Linked DNA regions of Homo sapiens: region 1 is linked to region 2. Evidence: promoter capture Hi-C in 16 types of primary human blood cells and fetal thymus (Javierre and others, 2016). All regions are on one chromosome and are shown on one strand. Each heading gives the region's core, a stretch centred on a gene start or on the middle of the fragment in contact. The rest is flanking DNA. Distances are from core to core; before and after follow the strand shown.

Region 1 (3,124 bases), core at 357-2,856, 56 kb before region 2:
AAATATTTCTGGCAGGCCAACACACAAATTCATGAACACTTCAGCATGAATGAGCAACTCACACGCACTCTTCTGAGAGTGCCGGGTGCAGACCAAAGATGCTGAGGGGAGAACACACAAGGCCCAAGAGGAAGTGGGTATAGAAACAGAAAACAGTTCTTGACAGTTTTCCAGATCTGTCACTTTTTTTTTTTTTGAAGGGTGGAATTTTCTCTCCTGTCAAGTTTATGCCTAGAACACGCGTTCCATCGGTTGGATCCCTGGGTTTAAGGCGGCATTTCCAGGGTGCCTCTTTGCTTAACTAAGCACTTACACTCCTTAAGCTTCAGTGATCTCAGTGTCTGATGTCCAGGGTGTTGGAGGGTCTGGCTGGGTTTCCTGGAAAATTCTTACATACACTGAAGTGCCCTCTCCCTTCCCAGAACAAACAACTTTGCATTATCAGAGCCCCTTGGCTTTACAAAACCCACGTTAGCATACAATGCCCAGCTCCTCTTTTTAATTGTTCCCTTTCTCGTTTCTCCCTCCCTTCTATCCTGTCTTTCACATTTCTATCCTTTCTCCGTTGGGATTTGCAATTTTGTTTGTGAAATAATGACTCACTCCAGTAATCAATGACCTGGACCTAGAGGTCACTGATGTATTCTTCCTTGACTATTCACCTAAATCAGCACCTCCTTCTCAGTTTGTATCTTTCACCAAACCCTTACTAGCATTTGCTATGCTGTGTGATGATTTGTTCATTTCTTGTATCTACCCCCAGATCTAAGCCCCATGGGCAGGGACTGTCACTCTTGTTCCCACCGTATTTCGTGTCTTGGCGTGGTGGCCAGCACACAGATGTGTTTAGCAAACACAGGGTGAATGAATAAATACGAGGATAAAGACCAGTGTGCTCTGCACAGACTAGTGATTGCAGGGAAGATGGACTGCCCTGAGTTTTCCAGGCAGACTTTGACGATGAGAAGTGACAGCGTTTGAATCCAAGTGAGGAGGCCACCCTGGACTCACATCTCAGCTTCGGAGATCGGGAGCCAGAGAGATGTTGGAGACTTTTAAGAGAAGAGCAGGAGCGGAGGGCTCAGGAAGAAAAACCACCTGGGGGGGCCGGACACGGGGAAGGGGAGGGGAGTCGCTCCCGGGTTCTTCCCTGGCTTCATTCGCTGCTTCTGTCTCTGCAGCCCCAGTTAGCGCCTGCCAGGCTCTGTGAGGGAGCGGTGCATGAGCGTGCCATCCTCCTCGGTGACCAGGTTAGAACCCAGGCATGCCGTGTCTGGGCCCTGGGCAGGTAGGCAACACCAGGCAACGTCTCAGGAGGGAAGGTGGTGAGCGGAACGGCATGCAGCCAGCCGGAGAACCTCACAATGAACCACTCTTCACGCTGGAGCCGTGGGCTTCCCAATTCTCCTCCCATAGCAGAGCCGAAGGAGGCCCTGGTCCCCAGGAGGCGGCTGCCCAAGCCTGAGGCTGCCGCCTCAGTCAAAGGGGCTGGAGCTGAGACCCCCAGGCTGTCCTGGGGTGTCAGTGAGGAGCCCAGCCTCCGCCTGAAGCCGCTTTCAGGGAAGGGAAGGAAACAGTCACTTGGTGGAGCTCCTGGTGCCCCAGCCATTCACCCTGCAGCACCTCTGTTCACACCACAAACACCCACGGAGGAAGCCGAGTTCTTTCAACCCACCCGCCATAGCCCCGTTTTTCCGCGGAGGAAGGGACACTGGAGCTGGTTGGGAACTTGCTGGAGAAAGTGGGACGTGCCAGGCTGCTTTCAGGCCCAGCCTCCCAGCCTGGTTCCAGACACGAGGCCCTGGCCCGGACCCTGGGCGGCTGCTCCGGGCCCGCGGTTCTCCCCTCGCCTAGCACTTCCTCTGCGCTTCCTCAGCGTCTTCCTCGTCCCTCCGGCTCCCCTCCCTGGCTCCGGGGGTCTGCCGCTGCAGCCGGCCTCCCCTCTATCTTGTCTCCCCGTTTCCACGGCTATCAGTCATTATCTGGTGCGATCCACCCTGGCCGGGGCACAGGAAGCCGGCCTGCGACGCTCCTCTTTATTCTCCATTCTTTTCCTTCTCCAGAGACAAAAGCAAAAACAGCCTGTTAACAGATCCGCCATTTCCCTTGGCTCCTTGACTCCCATTTCCCACTCTCATTTTTTTTCACAGGCTCCAGTGTTCCATGGTCAGGTCCTCTGGAGCCGCTGCCGCCCGGGCCTGAGGGCCCAGGCCTGTGACTTCCTCCTGGCCTGTCTGTCTGCCCGGGAGCCGGCACCGGCACCCACAGGCCCAAGGCTGTCTCCCTGGCCAAGCCGAAGCCGCCGGCTCCCTCTTATCCTCTGCGAGATCAGCCCAGCCAGTTGGAAGGGGCCGGCCAGCCGTCTGGCTGTCTGAGCCGGGACCGGTTGGCGGGTGCTCTGGCCTTCCTCATTAGCGGGGTCTCCACTGCCCTTCCTCTCGCAGGCTAGGCTGTGGCTCCTATTATAGCTACTGGAGGGTTTTTTAGTCAAAGAGCACCATGCATCCATTTATTATTTTACCATTCACTCAGACGTTCCCTGAGCACTTCCTATGCTGCTGCTGGAGCCCAGGGATCAGCCAACTATGACCTCTGGCCCCAAACGGCAGATCCTCTGTGGAGAGTGAGGAGGTTGCTGGGCTGAATCAAAGTGCTCTCACGCACGGTGGAAGTTGCTACGTGCAAAGAGATGCGGGCAACCAAGTGCTCTGAGGTGCAGAGGAGGCAGAGGCCATGCCAACAAGGAGAGCTTACGGCTCTCAGCCCTTCTCCGTGCCAGGCGCTGGGCTGAGCACTTCACATTGCTGTCTCATTGAATCCTGGAGGTAATCCATGGGGTAGGTACGATGATCATTAGCCCCTATTTCCAGATGAAGAGACTGAAGCTTAGAGTTAAGTGATCCACAGTGAGTACAATGCCTGGATTCATAGCCAGAGGCCCATGTGCTTTGAAGCCCCAGTTCATCATGTTGCCCTCCTACCATCTCTACCCACTCCCCCAGCCCCTTGGGGCTGCAGAGCACGCTGGACAGAGCTGGGGAGGGGGGTGGTGGGCGGGTCTCTGGCTCAAGCTACTTCGTCATATTGCATCTCAGTTTTCCTGTCTCCTAAGCTTGTTGTGGGT
Region 2 (3,267 bases), core at 104-2,603:
TTTGCATGGCTTCCTATGGAGTAAGAAAAGAAGAGCCCAGAAGGGCCGGGTGTGTGTCTGCTCATGTGTGTGTAAGTTTGCGTGTTTGTGTGTGTGTTTGTGTGTGTGAGTTTGTGAGTTTGTGTAAATGTGTTTGTGTGAGTTTGTGTTTGAGTCTGAGTCTGTGTATTTGTGTGTCTGTGTGAGTTTGTGTGTGTGAGTCTGTGTGTCTGTGTGTGTGTCTGTCTGTGTGTGAGTTTGCGTGTCTGTGTGAGTCTGTGTATGTGTTTGTGTTTGTCCGTGTGTGTGTGAGTCTGTGTTTTTATGTGTGTGAGAGTGTGTGTGTGTACATGTGTGCTTAGAGAGCCATTGGCATGGTCAGCATGTGGTTAGAGGCTGCCCTTCTGGGAAGTTCTGATTTTCTGGCTCCTCACCCCCGATTCTGTGGCTACATCCAGGTATTAAACTCCGATGGCTTTTCACATCCTTTGCCCCTGGGTCACACGAGATTTCCCAAGGGGGTGTAGTGGGGATTGAATAGGAGACAGCGGAGGGTGAGAGAAGGAAGGGGAAAGGAAGCAGCAGCAGTGGGCAGGCTTATCACTGCCCTGGGGTTTGAAGCCGGTTACCAGCACTCATTTTCCAAAACCAGCCTGCCCAGATGGCTGTCTGCCCACCTCAGCGGAAAAAGGCGTTGTGGCATCAGTTCCTGCAGCGGCGCTACTGGGTAAGGCTGGGCGAGGGGCGAGGTGGGAGGGCTGATGTGGGCGGTGGGTGGGAGCGTTTCCTCTCGGTGGCAGCTGTATGTGTGTGTGTATGTGTACGCACGTGTGTGCCTCACAGGCTGACCACAGACCAAAACTTTTCTGCTGAGAGTTCCAGTTTTAACAGGGCCACCAGATGTGCTTCCTGCCAGCTAGAGCTCTCGGCTAAAACCCTCCTCTCCACTCTGCTCTTCACCCCATGGAGTCCAGAAAGTTCTGCATGTGAACGTGAGGGACACTGAGGACCAGTCCTGGGTAGCCAAGGAGGTCCAGCACTCGCAATTCCCTGGTGGCAGAAGGTGGGGCTGTCCTCCAGGGCTCAGAGAAGTCATGTCCCTGGCATCTGTGTGTAGCTCAGGCCTGCCCATCAGCCTGGGGTCGACGCCAGGGCTGTGCAAAGGCTGAGGGCCCCTGGGATGGGAAGTCCTACAGGAGATGTTTGTGGGCACCATCTAAGGAAGAGATGAGGTCACAACAGAACACACTTGCCTGCCGGGTTCAATGGAACTCTTGCTAACTCTGTGTGTTTCCCATGACATTCATTCGCCCTCTCTTCCTTCGGAACAGAATAGCCTCATTCCAACACAGCAGCCCGGGTCTAAGGCTCCATTCCCTGGGCTCCCTCACAGCTGCGTGGGGCAGGAGGCACAGTGGCCAGGGTTTGCAAGTCCAAGTGCAGTGGGTGACCTTGGGGATATCTGCCTAGAGGAAGGTGGCCTTCAGTACCCCCTGACTTCTCCTGCTGGCTGAGAGGATGGGGTGGTAAGGCACGAGCAGCCATTGTGGGCAGCAGGTGGCACATGCCGCCCTTTCTCTGCACCTGGTACTTCACCAACCTGCGCCGACATGTCAATCAGCCTTGGGAGTGACAATCTGCTCCCTTCATCTGTCTTCAGGAAATCCAGCAGGCATCCTAAGAAAAGAGAAGTTGCAAGTGCCCTTCTGCAAAGTGACCCGCCCCTGGTGGTGCCAGCCTCTCTCTGGTGTGAGTGGCTCCCCATGGGCGCGGGAAGTGGGAGTTTGCACCCTCAGATCTCTCGGTGCATCAGGAAGGATCTACCTACTGCTGCCGAGTGCCTTCCACTTTACAAAATGCCAGTCTCAGCACCCCGGGAGGCAGCCAATATACCAGCAGTTGCCCAGAAGTTAGGTTTCAGCCAGGTGCAGGGACCTGTCTGAAGTCACCCAGCCGGGAGCTGGGAGTGGGACCCCAGTTCTGACTCGAAGTTTCATGCCCCTTCTTGTCTTTCCCCCCGTGTTGGCCTCGCTCCCTTGATCCCTGCTGGCAGACACCCTCTGCCTCTGAGGACCAGGCATCAGCAAGAAAGCACCAGAATGGAGAGAACTGTCCCCCAGGTTTGGTGCAGGGGACAAATGCAGCTCCCCCTGGAATCAGAAAGCTGGGAGGGATGGATGCTTGCCCTAGGGGCAGGCTAGAGGCACCCCCAGCACAGCCTCCGACCGGGGGCCCCTTGGTGACAGTTGTTAGGGAGCTATATCAACATGGGCATGTTAGGATCCTATAGGAGCAGTGTGCGGTCAGGGTCATAGGAGGGTGAGAAAGTGGCATGAGAACTTGGCCACGCCGTGGACCTCAGAGGCCATCAAGCCCAACCTCTCTGGCCATCCTTGTAAAATATTCACACAGTTGTAAATGGTTGCATGACCAGGAGGCAGGAGACCTGGATCTAGTACTGTCCCTGCATGCCTGGCCTGGTGTTCGTCTGACTTTGCAATGCTCTGTCCCTCCCAGCAGGCATCAAAGAGTGCTAGGCACAGAAGATGCACTCCAGAAATGCTGTCTGAACTGCTCCTGGGCTGAGAACATGGCTCTGTCAGAACCACTTCACCCTCCTGTTTCTCACCCTCCCTCTGTCCCTCCCCCTCCCTCCATCCCTCCCTGTCCCCACACCGTGCCATGCCCTAGATCTGCAGGACCCCCTGGCCTGGTGAACCCACCGCAGCGGACCCTCCTCCTCCTGCTAAGCCCGGCCCTCCCGCCTCGCTCTGAGGATGCGGCTCTGCGGGGGGCACCACCTCTGGCCATGTACTCGGTGACAATGTAGATGGGCTCCTTGGTGACCACTGCGTAGAGTCGGACCAGCCGCTCGTGCTGCAGAGCCTTCATCACGTTGGCCTCACCCAGAAAGGCTTCTGGAGACATGGTTCCCTCCTTCAGCGTCTTAATGGCCACCTTCATGTTGTTTTTGTAGTAACCTGAGCCCGGGGGAGTGAAGAAGCCAATCAGAAGACAGAGAGCTTGCTCGGAGGTGATCCCTTAACCAAAATCGGGGTAAGTGCCCAGGTGCCACCCCATTCCAGGTGCCAGAGCTGGAACATGCAGTTCCGGAGGCCATGGTTGTGTGGTGCCTACCTTGCGTTCCAGGTCCCTTCTATATGGGGCCTCAGGCAGTGGAGGAATGTACCCTGCCTGGGGGGCATTTCACCTATTTGCCCCACACCCTGGGCCTGTGTCCTTCTGTCCTGCACGGAACCTGTGTCCTTCCCCCACCCCTCCCCTACA

What was found. The method cuts DNA at HindIII sites, captures the fragments that hold promoters and counts their contacts. A CHiCAGO score of 5 or more calls a contact.
Region 1: a contact is called between a fragment that was not itself captured here and the fragment with the promoter of BLK-AS1 in region 2, in 1 of 17 cell types (total B cells). The highest score is 5.1, in total B cells.

What each region holds. Positions count from the first base shown.
Region 1 is chr8:11,612,411-11,615,534 of GRCh38, reverse strand. No RefSeq gene overlaps it. Among named protein-coding and RNA genes, the nearest start is that of LINC00208, 37 kb to the right of the region's middle. The HindIII fragment of the contact is 2,562 bases long and covers 326-2,887 here.
Region 2 is chr8:11,556,351-11,559,617 of GRCh38, reverse strand. BLK-AS1 (BLK antisense RNA 1) reads left to right here and starts at 1,353. Exons shown (of 5, transcript XR_948956.3): 1 at 1,353-1,728; 2 at 2,957-3,267. It overlaps BLK (BLK proto-oncogene, Src family tyrosine kinase), which reads right to left. Exons shown (of 13, transcript NM_001715.3): 9 at 2,781-2,960; 10 at 1,580-1,656. RefSeq lists an enhancer at 894-1,183. The HindIII fragment of the contact is 8,296 bases long and covers 1-3,267 here.